Regions from separate parts of the Homo sapiens genome. Here region 1 is linked to region 2. Evidence: promoter capture Hi-C in 16 types of primary human blood cells and fetal thymus (Javierre and others, 2016). All regions are on one chromosome and are shown on one strand. Each heading gives the region's core, a stretch centred on a gene start or on the middle of the fragment in contact. The rest is flanking DNA. Distances are from core to core; before and after follow the strand shown. Region 1 holds the start of CIDEB (cell death inducing DFFA like effector b). Region 2 has its middle 10 kb from the start of CARMIL3.

Region 1 (5,522 bases), core at 948-3,447, 260 kb after region 2:
CAAGAGGAAATCAGATGATTTGGAAAACTTGGGAGGAAGCCATCAAGCTGGGAGATGAGGACTTTCCACAAGCAAGAGCTAACTAGGGGTAGGTGGGTGCAAGAGGACGAATTATGGGGACTATCCAACTGTAGGGGATGGGGCAGTATGACATGTTGATTTCTGACCTGAGTACTTTCTTTGGGCCAAGTCCTTGAAAGTCACAACTCATAGAGTAGAGCCCGTAGAATGTGGCTTTGACATTCAGGCTGCCAAAGAGGTCTCGAGGGTTTTGCTTGTACACGTCAAAGGTGAATCGGGCGATGTCCTTGCTGTGCTTGGGCCTCTCCCGTCCCAGGCCATATGACAGCACTCCACTCTGTAGGACACCCTTGTCAGTGCAGTAGATCCTCATACCAGACACCCACCACTAATCTCCATCAGCACTGGGTCAGACCCTCCCTCGCTTGGACTTTCTGTCCACTGTGTGACATCCTTGACAATTCCACAACTCCTCCTGCACCTGGTCCCCAGGATCAGGGTTAAGCTAGAGAGGAAGCCCGGGAAAGCTCTAAAGGACAGGCATTGGAAGCAGCCCCAGTATAGGCCTCTTACCCTTGTAGGGCTCCAGCTCTGACCAGACTGCAACACCATCAGGCACGTGTCATCCTCCAGCAGCTGGAAGAAGTCCTCACTGTCCACTGCAGTTCCATCCTCCTCTAGCACCAGGGTTAGCACTCCATTCAGCAGTAGGGTCTCCAATGCCTGCCCAATGGCAAGAAGCAAGAAGGGCAGGTCTTATCCCATGCCCCTTCCCTCTTTAGCTGCCCAACATCCATCAGTTGGCTCTAGACATTGGTCGATGTCCCACTTTGACTTTCCGGCACTTTGATACCTCCTAAAGGTTGCAGCTCTCCGTGTTCTTCAGTTTTTGGGGGATCCTAGCTAGAGGCTGACCTTTTTCCTCTTTGCTCCTACCATGTCATTGGCATCTCCCCTTGCTCCCCTCCAAGTCACTTCTGGTTTGGAATTGGAAAGCAAGCCAGGTTCTCACGAAGTCCACCCTTCTGTCTTATCTACAATGCTGCACCTCACTTCCCACACCCTCAAGAGTTCTCCAGAAGTGTTTTCAGTAATAGTGTTTAACCTTTTTGAGTCCTTACTCTGTGCCAGGTATGAGGACTTTACCTACATTATCCTCTTACTCCTTTCAACAACCCTAGGAGGTGATGTATTATTATTGCCTTTTTATAGTTGAAGAAACTGAGGTTTTGGTAGGTTGAACAACTTCCCAAGGTTTGACAGGCAGGAAGTGGCAGAATCAGAATTTGAACTTGATTTGTCACACAAATCACCTTTCCATACTAGCTTCTGAATTCTGTCCCTCGAACTCTCCCTATCTCCTGCTAACCCCTGCTCCCATAGAAAAGCTCACTCGGTGGAAAATGAACAAATTGACCAGAGCTCATTAGGCCCACTCCGCTGCTTTTAGCCCTCAGAGGGAGGGGCAGCTGTGTGACTTCAGCCCTCTGCTCCATCATCACAAGTTGCCACTGTTGTGGAGCCCCTTGGCTACCCCTGCTATAGGAACCGAGGAACTTGGCCTACTTACTTTGGCTAGCAGCTCCTGGCGGGTGGCAGCTGTCAGGCCTTTCCGGATGGTCCGCTTGTGATCACAGACACGGAAAGGTCGCTGGGGTGGTGGAGCTGAGGTCCAGACCCTCCGTCCAAACTCCGAGCTTATATTAGATACTGACCTGGTAGTTGAGAAGAAAAGTCAAGAAGGGGCGAGGAGGGGCTTGGTGAGTGTAAAGGGCATGATGAGGGTAGAGTGGCTAGAGGGCTAGGGAGGGAGAGATCTAGGTTTATCGATTAGGGATGAGGGAGAGACCATGGAGTGCAGGTGGGGGCGGGTGGCTCAGGAGCTTGACAAGCCCACTGTGGAGTGGGGAGCAGGAGAGGAAGGGGTACTGGTTAGTCTCCTAGGGGCTGAGTGGAGTATTGTTGCCCTGCCTATATCCCCTAAAGGTGGAGGGTAGAGCGGAGGGTTAGCAGTCACCTGAGTAAGTCACTGGGGTTCAGAGCTGAGAGGTACTCCATGGTGGACCGGAGAGTTCCTTCCCTGGAACTTCTGGGCTGGGTGGTTCTCTCCTGTGCTGGGGCTTTAGTGGTGTTTTCTGTTACAAACCTGGGATCTCAGCCCAGGACAAGGTGGGAATGAGTCAAGCCTGGACTCTGGCCCCCCTGCCTGGCCAGTAAGAAGGGCAAAGTCCAAGGGGAGGGATGAGGGAGGGGCCAGATGGGGTCCTGGAGGAAGAATTGCCTGGCAAAAGCCATTGGAGCTTGTATGTGTGTCTTTGGTGATGACATGTGTTGTGAGGGTAGATGGGAACCATGTAAAAGGATGAAATGTGACTTCTGGTGTTTTTTTATTTCTATGGAGGGAATTTCTGGGGACGGTTTCTGGCTCTCAGGCTCTGAGAAGCTGCAGTTTATGAGTGGCTCTGTGTGTGCTGCCACCTACTGGAGAAGCCATAAGCTGCAGCTTTAGGAAAAGGGAACCCGGGGCAGAGTGTGGGGAAGTGGGATGGCAGCATGGCAGGGCTTTGGAAAATGAGAGGTGAGACTGTGTCCAGGAAGGGTGTAAGGAGAGGATGGATCCTGATACATGGATTCAGGATCATTAGGGTCCTGTCTGGGACACTGGCCTTCCTGCTTACCTGCTCTTTCCTTCCTCCTTGGTCGGAGGAGGGGCTGGCTCACTGCTCTGGCTTCATTTTCCAGAGCTGCCTGCTGCAGTCACACTTAGGTCATCTTCTCTCACTTTTCTCCTTTTGCCGATTAGTGGACGTGACAGAGATGTGAATGGGGCAGGGATGTCCTTTGATGGCATCAAGACTTTAGCTTCTGGTGCGCTGTGTCCCAGCTCTGATTTCAGTTGCAGCCGTGATGGACAGTTGCATGGAAGCTGAGACTCTCACTGACAGTGAAACCCTCAAATGAACACAATCCCTGCTTTCCTGCCAAGGATCCTTGTAGGGTCCCCCAGCTTCCCCACTTTTTTTCTGTGTCCTGACAAAGAAACACAGAGTAACTTGATTGCCCTGTGACCTGGCCAGTTGCATTTCCCCTGCAGGCTTGAGCCCAAGCCAGAGCCTTGAAAAGGTATTCAGGTTGTTGCCCAAAACACTGAAAAAAACTGGCCCTGGCCCTGAACCAAATACCTTGAACCCTCGTAAACTCCATACCCTGACCCCCTTGTTTTGGATATACCCAGGTAGAACAACTCTCTCTCACTGTCTGTTGTGAGGATACGCTGTAGCCCACTCATTAAGTACATTCTCCTAATAAATGCTTTGGACTGATCACCCTGCCAGTCTTTTGTCTTGGGCAATCTATACTTTTCTCAGAGGTTCCCAAGGCCTACTGAAGGGACTTAACATACTCTTAATGGCTTTCCTCTCTCTTGTTTTACCTTATGCCCTCACTTCCTGAGTTAACCTCCCAAATACAGGATCACCTGTACCCAAGCCCTTAGCTCAAGAATACAGGATCACCTGTACCCAAGCCCTTAGCTCAAGCTCTGCTTTGGAAGAACCCAAACTAAGACAGTGCTCCTGGTGCCCTCCCCAAGCAACCTCAAGTTCTGGCTGTTACTTGAGCAGAGGCCTTTCTTTTCCCTTCCCCCAGCTCTATCCATCTGCCAGGCCCCCCTCAAATCTCTTCATTTCCAAGTTTTGCTTGACTTTTCCAAGAGGAGAGGGCTGCTTCTTAGTATGTCCCTACTCATCCTTTCCTTTCTTGTCTTGTATCCTGGTGCAGCCTGGTAATGGGGCCTCTTCATGGTTGTGTGTCATGACTCCCTAACCATTATGCCTCCATGCATCCCCTGTTCCTCCTGGAACCTAGCACCATGCCTTACATGGAAAAGCTGTCATTGACAGCCCGGTGAGAGCCCTGAGGGTGGAGTGACTGGGGCAGGGCCTGAGGCAAGAGGTGGGAGGAGGTAGGAGGCCAGGGGCTCAGCCGGACCAGGAGACTGGAAACAGGCAAGGATAAGGCAGGTGGGGGACTGAGTTGTTTGGGTCACCTCTGCAGGCCAGAGAGACCAGGCAACATACACACTGCAGAAGGTGGGCTGGGAGGATTGGGGCCAGAGCTGGGGGAGGGATGAGAACAGAAGCAGGACCAGGATTCAGCAGAGTCCTCCTATTTCCTTCCACCACCAGGGAATCTTACTGCCCCACTTCAGCTTGTGCTGTTTCCTGGCAAGGCAGGCTCTCACATGCCTGGACGCCTGGGTGCGTTGGTGATGGGAAGGAGCAGGGTGAGGGAGGGGCCCCAGGAGAGGCCCAGGATGAGCCTCATCTTGTCCCTCCCCATTCTTGTCTTACCCTCTGCAAATGTGATAGGCACAGGACAGGAGTAGGCACCTCGCCTACTGCTGCTTAACCTTTCAGCTTCTCCAGGCCCCCAATCCTGCTTGCTCCCAGCTTGGTAAGTAGATCTGTGCACGTCCCTTTACACCCCACCATCCAGTTTTGCCCAGATGTGCTAGAATGGGGCTGGACAAAGAAGGAGGGGCCAGACTAGAGGAGTGGTGGTAGAGATAGTGACAGCCTGGGGTGATGACTTTATGCCTGTTTACCACTGAGCTCTGGGAAGGAGGCCAGGAGTGGGGCAGGTCAACTGACTGGGAGCAGGGGATCTGGGTTCCAAGAAGGAGTTGTGTTTGAGGTGGGGTCTGGGTCCTCGTGGAAGTCAGGACTCCCAGGCAGAAAAGAGGCAGGCTGCAGGGAAGTAAGGAGGAGGCATGGCACCTTCTCATCGGGCATCACAGGTGGGGTTTTGCCCCACCCCTGAACGCCCTCTGTGGCGCCTTCCACCCACCTGTAGGCCCAGAAGGATGTCGGTCTGCTACCGTCCCCCAGGGAACGAGACACTGCTGAGCTGGAAGACTTCGCGGGCCACAGGCACAGCCTTCCTGCTGCTGGCGGCGCTGCTGGGGCTGCCTGGCAACGGCTTCGTGGTGTGGAGCTTGGCGGGCTGGCGGCCTGCACGGGGGCGACCGCTGGCGGCCACGCTTGTGCTGCACCTGGCGCTGGCCGACGGCGCGGTGCTGCTGCTCACGCCGCTCTTTGTGGCCTTCCTGACCCGGCAGGCCTGGCCGCTGGGCCAGGCGGGCTGCAAGGCGGTGTACTACGTGTGCGCGCTCAGCATGTACGCCAGCGTGCTGCTCACCGGCCTGCTCAGCCTGCAGCGCTGCCTCGCAGTCACCCGCCCCTTCCTGGCGCCTCGGCTGCGCAGCCCGGCCCTGGCCCGCCGCCTGCTGCTGGCGGTCTGGCTGGCCGCCCTGTTGCTCGCCGTCCCGGCCGCCGTCTACCGCCACCTGTGGAGGGACCGCGTATGCCAGCTGTGCCACCCGTCGCCGGTCCACGCCGCCGCCCACCTGAGCCTGGAGACTCTGACCGCTTTCGTGCTTCCTTTCGGGCTGATGCTCGGCTGCTACAGCGTGACGCTGGCACGGCTGCGGGGCGCCCGCT
Region 2 (5,948 bases), core at 3,076-5,575:
GCAAGCTCCTCTTCCCTTGAGGCTCAGGATACACACTTTATTTTCCAGAGTGGAAGGGAGAATCTACCCAAAAATGGAAAGTACAGGGTTGTGCTAACAGATTGGAAGGTTGGCAGAAATAATTTGCATAATCTTAGAAGAGGAGGATCTTAAGCAATAGTAGACAGTAGCATGGTAGACAGTATAGGGTAATTCCGTTTTTAAGGAACTGTCTGGCAAATGCTCAAATGTGCATTGGAAAGAGCCAAATGTGAGTCCTAGAAAGTCACCTTGCCTGGCCTAGGCTGGTGGACAGAGCCCAAGATTGGGGCCTTGATCCTGATGGTGGAAGGAGCCGTTTGGGAGTCTGGGTCAATTAGTGACTAACCATATCACATGTAAGTAGCAATGTAATGTGAAAACCCTGTTGGGAAAACATCCTGTGGCCCCCACCAGGTTCACTTAACATGGCCTACAGGCCTGGCCCAGAGGTGGTACTTGAGCTAAACCTTAAGGAATGGATGGGAATGGACAGATGGAATAGTGACGAGGTTCCAGATAACTCTGCAAAATGAGCAGACAGCCAAGGAGGAACTGAAGGAAAGAGAGGAGCACTGTCAGGCCACAATGGAGAGCACAGGCTCAGGAGTACTGCTGGGGAAGGGGCTGCATTGGAAAGATAGAGGCCATGGGCCTCCATATCTTTTTTTTTTTTTTTTTTTTTTTTTTTTTTTTTTTTTTGTGACGGAGTTTCACTCTTGTCGCCTAGGCTGGAGTACAGTGGCACCATCTCGGCTTACTGCAACCTCTGCCTCCCAGGTTCAAGCAATTCTCCTGCCTCAGCCTCCTGAGTAGCTGGGATTACAGGTGCCCACCACCATGCCCAGCTAATTTTTGTATTTTTAGTAGAGACGGGGTTTCACCATGTTGGCCAGGCTGGTCTTGAACTCCTGACCTCAGGTGATCCACCCACTCAGCCTCCCAAAGTGCTGGGATTACAGGCGTGAGCCACTGCGCCCGGCCATAGCTTCTTAAAAGGATACGTTAAGGACCTTAAAAGGATATAGCCTCTTAAAAGGATATGTTTACACACTCTTGTAGCAAATAAGAAGCCATGTGAGGTTTTGAGCAAGAGAAAGATGGTTATTAGGAAAGCTAATCTGGCTCTGGTAGGAAGGATATACAGAGGAGACACCAAATCCAGGGCATCAGTGAGGAAGCTGTTGCTGTCGTCCAGGTTTAGAGCAGTGGCGGTGGGACTGGAATAGATGTGCCCAAGAGACATTCAGTGGAAACGAACCAAGATTTTCCAACCCCATGTCAAAAAGTGGGAAATAGAGAAGTCAAAAATGACTCTCAGGTAGTTTGTATGACCATTGTCAGAGAGGAGAATGATAGAATACTTGTCAGCAATTTGAAATGTCTTCTGCCAGTTGTCACATGTTACCCTGCAATGAGAAAAGCCACTGCCCTGAGAATGGATACTACCCAGTGGCCTCCTCATCTGCACACCACGAAGCTTCTCACTGGTGTTGTAAGTGGAAACCAGAGTAGCTGCCTATCTGCTTGATTATATTTTTTCTTAAAAATGTATAACTATCAGAACACAGAACAAACAGCTCCTAACCACTTTAGTGTAGTGATCACACAATTTAGAACACTTAGAAGACATCTTTTTCTTTTCCCCCCAGAGACAGGGCCTCACTCTGTTGCCCAGGCTGGAGTGCAGTGGCATGATCATAGCTCACTGTAACCTCCAACTCTTGAGCTCAAGCAGTCCTCCCCCGTCAGCCTCCCAAGTGGCTAAGATTATAGGCATGCACCACCACGCCAGTTCATCTTTTAAATTTGTTGTAGAGTTGGGGCTTTATTGCCCAGGCTGGTTTTGAACTCCTGGCCTCAAGCGGTCCTCCCTACTGGCCGTACCAAAGTGCTAGGATTATAGGTGTGAGCCACCACACCCAGCCTCATTCATCTTTTATGGTTTGCTGTCTCTGTTCATTCAAAACCCAGCCTCCTCCCATCTCTGTGCTGACAGACCTGGAAGTAGAGGGGCATGGGGTATGCAGCAGAGTAGAAAATGTCTCCAGGTGATTCTGGAGCAATCCACTGTCTTCTCCCAGCCCAAACACACGTGCACTGAGCACAGCACACATCACTTATTAACTTATTCTGCACCTCCCTAGTAACAAGTACATTGGTGAGACTTACACAGAGCCAAGGCAGGTGACTTGGCTTTGTGCCAGGATACCAAAATTTAAAGGGTGCAAGAAAGTATTCATACTGGTTTTAAAAGAGTACTTGACTTTAAATTTTGTTAGATTTACACGTTGACAGCCCAGGCATTTCTTCAACTGTGTTGAAGGTTAGCACCTAGTTAACAAGAATAATTAGTTAAAATGGGAAGCTAGCAGATGGTGTACATTGTTAATAACACCCCTCCGTGGGCCAAATCCGGAGCACAAAATTGACCAAGGGCCCATGTACTGCTACTTGCCCAAGGCATCAAAATTGCCAGTTCCAGGCAAATGCAAAGTCTGGTTTCAGGGTGGCTTTGTACTGAAAACCCTTGTTGGCAGATTCTGCTTGGCCATTCATTACTCTAGCACATGCCTCACTACCTACTTATAACTTATTAAGGAGGTGAGATGTTGCCTTTCTTGGCTTTCTCAGTTTAAATTTCCCTTTCTGCCTTGAATCTTTCATGCCTCCAGGTCAAAAGAGAGAGACAGAGACAGGGAAAATGACATCATAACCAAATATGGAATTGCTTTAAATTCAGGCTGGTATCTTCTCCCATCATGGCTCTCCTGGGCAGCCGGTTTCCTAATGACCCCAGCTCACTTTCAGAGGGCTCTTACGAATTAGCTCTGTGCTACAAAGTGGGAGACTGACCTCAGTTCTTCCACCACTAACTAGCTTTATGCCCTGAACAAATCACTTTCCCCAACACGGAATAAGCAGGCCTCCTGTTCTTAGCTAGCCCCAGTGTGTTACTACTGAACTATATGATCTTGAGAAAATTCCCTGAACCTGTTTCATCATCTCCACCTTAAGGACATTGGAATAGATGATCTCAAAGGCCCCTCCAGGGTAACTTTCTACAGCTCTATTTAAGCCAGTTTTTCCATTCAGGTAAGTGTGGCCAGATTGACTTTGAAATAATGGTAACTTATTCAAGAAGAACTGGACAGTAAGCACTTGGAGAAATGTGGGTGGAACTCAGTGTGAAAGGAAGAGGAGGGGTCTGGAAATAGATTTTGGGGTGAGATTTGAAATCACGAGAATGAAGGAGCTCCCAAATGGGAAAATGTAAAGAAAAGAGCATAGGGTCAGAGACAGCCTTAGAAGAATAGGAGGTGGGAAGAAAACACTGCAAAAGAAATAAGGCCAACTTCCTGGTGGCTCACACCTGTAACACTTTGAGAGGCCGAGGCAGGCGGATGGCTTTAGCTCAGGAGTTCCAGACCAGCCTGGGCAACATGGCAAGACCCTGTCTCTACAAAAAGTACAAAAATTGCCCAGGTGTGATGGCACGCACCTGTATTCTCAGCTACTTGGGGGGCTGAGGCAGGAGGATGGCTTGAACCCAGTAGGTCAAGGCTGCAGTGAGCTGGGATCATGCCACTGAACTCCAGCCTGGGTGACAGAGGAAGACTCCATCTAAAAAAAGAAAGAAGCCAACCTTAAATGGTTAGCAGCAGATCTTAGGGTAGTTTTCAAAAAAGATGTTTTAAGAAATAGAAGTTATTTTGACGATAGTTCCTAAGAAGGAAGATTTGTTGTTGTTGTTGTTGTCATTGTTGTTGTTTTTTTAAATATAGGGATAAGGTCTCCCTATGTTGCCCAGGCTTCTCTCAAACTGCTCAGTTCAAGTGGTCCTCCCACCGTGACCTCCCAAAGTGCCATGATTCCCGGCGTGAGCCACCACGCCCCGCCCAGAAGGAAGTTTTTATCAACGTGAATAAATGCACCTCCCTTACTTACTGCAGCCCTGGTCCAGACCTTACCCCTCTCCCTAGGCTATGAAGCTTCATGGAGTTATTGATATCCTATCACTATCGATAACAAACTCCGTCTGCTTTTAGAATGTGTTTATCAAGTGCAGTGTAAATGTGAGGAGTCTTTGCCACATGCCACACACCTGGAGCACACCTGGTAAAGGGCGGGTGGGGGCAGCTTCCTCTGTCCCTGCCCTTCTCATTCGTTTCTGCTGCTCCTACTTCTGTCTGCTTCCATCTGCCCTTCACTATCCACCGTCTGCTCCCCTCCCCAGCCTTCTTCCCGGCATGCTCTGCTACCTGGTTGATTTCCAACAGAGACGTGGCAGCTAATATGCCAACAACTATGACACTTAAACTTACACACCCAACTGTCCCCCTTTCAGCTGCCAAAAAGGAATCATTTTTCATTAGCTGGGAAATATTAAAAGCTGCTAGTTAAGTAAAATACTAATTCTGGTGAAATAACCAGTTGCCACTTTATAATATACATCCTTTAAAAAAGTAAAAATAAAAACCTATATTATTTTCTTCCTAACTGCAATGTCAAGAAAATCTGAGATCCAGATGTCTATATTCAAGTGGTACAATATTGGGTTTTATGTGTAAGTATATAATTACATTACATTCGTAATATATTTCACACACATTCTTTAATTACAAAGCTTTAATTAAAATATTTGTCTTTGTATACTAAGGTTAATAGTCCCACGATTTGGAAATGCTAATTTTTTATGATCTCCCATGGTTTTGCTTTTTACTCTGATGTTGTATTAGTCTGTTTTGCGTTGCTATAAAGGAATACCTGAGCTGGGCAATTTATAAAGAAAAAGAGGGTTGTGGCCGGGCGCGGTGGCTAACGCCTGTAATCCCAACACTTTGGGAGGTCGAGGCGGGCAGATCACGAGGTCAGGAGATCGAGACCATCTTGGCTAACATGGTGAAAGCCCGTCTCTACTAAAAATACAAAAAATCAGCCGGGTGTGGTGGCGGGCACCTGTAGTCTCAGCTACTTGGGAGGCTGAGGCAGGAGAATGGTGTGAACCCGGGAGGCGGAGCTTGCAGTGAGCCGAGATTGCGCCACTGCACTCCAGCCTGGGTGACAGAGCGAGACTCCGTCTCAAAAAAAAAAAAAAAAGAAAAGAAAAGAGGGTTGTTTTGGTTTACACTTCTGCAGACTGCAGAAGAAGCATGGTGCCAGTATCTGCTTCTGATGAGGCCTCAGGAAGCTTACAATCATAGCAGAAGGCAAAAGGGAGCAGGCGCGTTACATGGCAAGAGAGGAAGTGAGATACCAGGCTTTTAAACAACTAGCTCTGGCATGAACTAATAGAGTGAGAGCTCACTAATTGCCACCAGGAGAGCACCAAGCCATTCATAAGGGATCCACCCCATGACCCAAACACCTCACACCAGGTTCCACCTTGAACACTGGTGATCACATTTCAACATGGGACTTAGAGGGGACAAACATACCAACTATATCAGATGTCATCAAACATTTCTCAACACTAAAGTATCAGGATGTGAAAACACTATGATTTATTTACCAGTGTTTCATACACATAAAGACCAAAGTGCCAAAATGTTCTTCAGTGAGCTAGTTTTTTATTGTTAAGCTTTGTCCCTCTTTTTTTTTTTTTCCTCGCTGTGTCATCGAGGCTGGAGTGCAGTGCTGCGATCTAGCTCACTGCAACCCCCGCCTCCCAGGTTCAAGCGATTCTTGTGCCTCAGCCTGCCAAGTACCTGGGACTACAGGCATGTGCCACCATGCCCGGCTAATTTTTGATATTTTCAGTAGAGACAGGGTTTCACTGTGTTGCCCAGGCTGGTCTCAAATTCCTGGCCTCAACTGATCCACCCACCTCGGCCTCTCAAAGTGCTGGGATTATAGGCGTGAGCCACTGCACCCAGACAGATTCTGATAGTCTTTACAATGGAGGAACATCTTTCATGAACAGTCTGAAT

Evidence for each region. The method cuts DNA at HindIII sites, captures the fragments that hold promoters and counts their contacts. A CHiCAGO score of 5 or more calls a contact.
Region 1: a contact is called between the fragment with the promoter of CIDEB here and a fragment that was not itself captured in region 2, in 1 of 17 cell types (activated CD4 T cells). The highest score is 5.8, in activated CD4 T cells.

The regions. Positions count from the first base shown.
Region 1 is chr14:24,305,780-24,311,301 of GRCh38, forward strand. CIDEB (cell death inducing DFFA like effector b) reads right to left here and starts at 2,198. Exons shown (of 5, transcript NM_001393339.1): 1 at 2,039-2,198; 2 at 1,592-1,736; 3 at 595-744; 4 at 168-358. The coding sequence starts at 2,079. NOP9 (NOP9 nucleolar protein) reads left to right here. Exons shown (of 10, transcript NM_174913.3): 10 at 1-3,345. It overlaps LTB4R2 (leukotriene B4 receptor 2), which reads left to right and starts at 4,361. Exons shown (of 2, transcript NM_019839.5): 1 at 4,361-4,476; 2 at 4,876-5,522. The coding sequence starts at 4,886. RefSeq lists silencers at 5,207-5,306, 5,507-5,522. The HindIII fragment of the contact is 15,090 bases long and covers 1-5,522 here.
Region 2 is chr14:24,038,687-24,044,634 of GRCh38, forward strand. It overlaps the pseudogene DHRS4L1. Among named protein-coding and RNA genes, the nearest start is that of CARMIL3, 10 kb to the right of the region's middle. The HindIII fragment of the contact is 635 bases long and covers 4,009-4,643 here.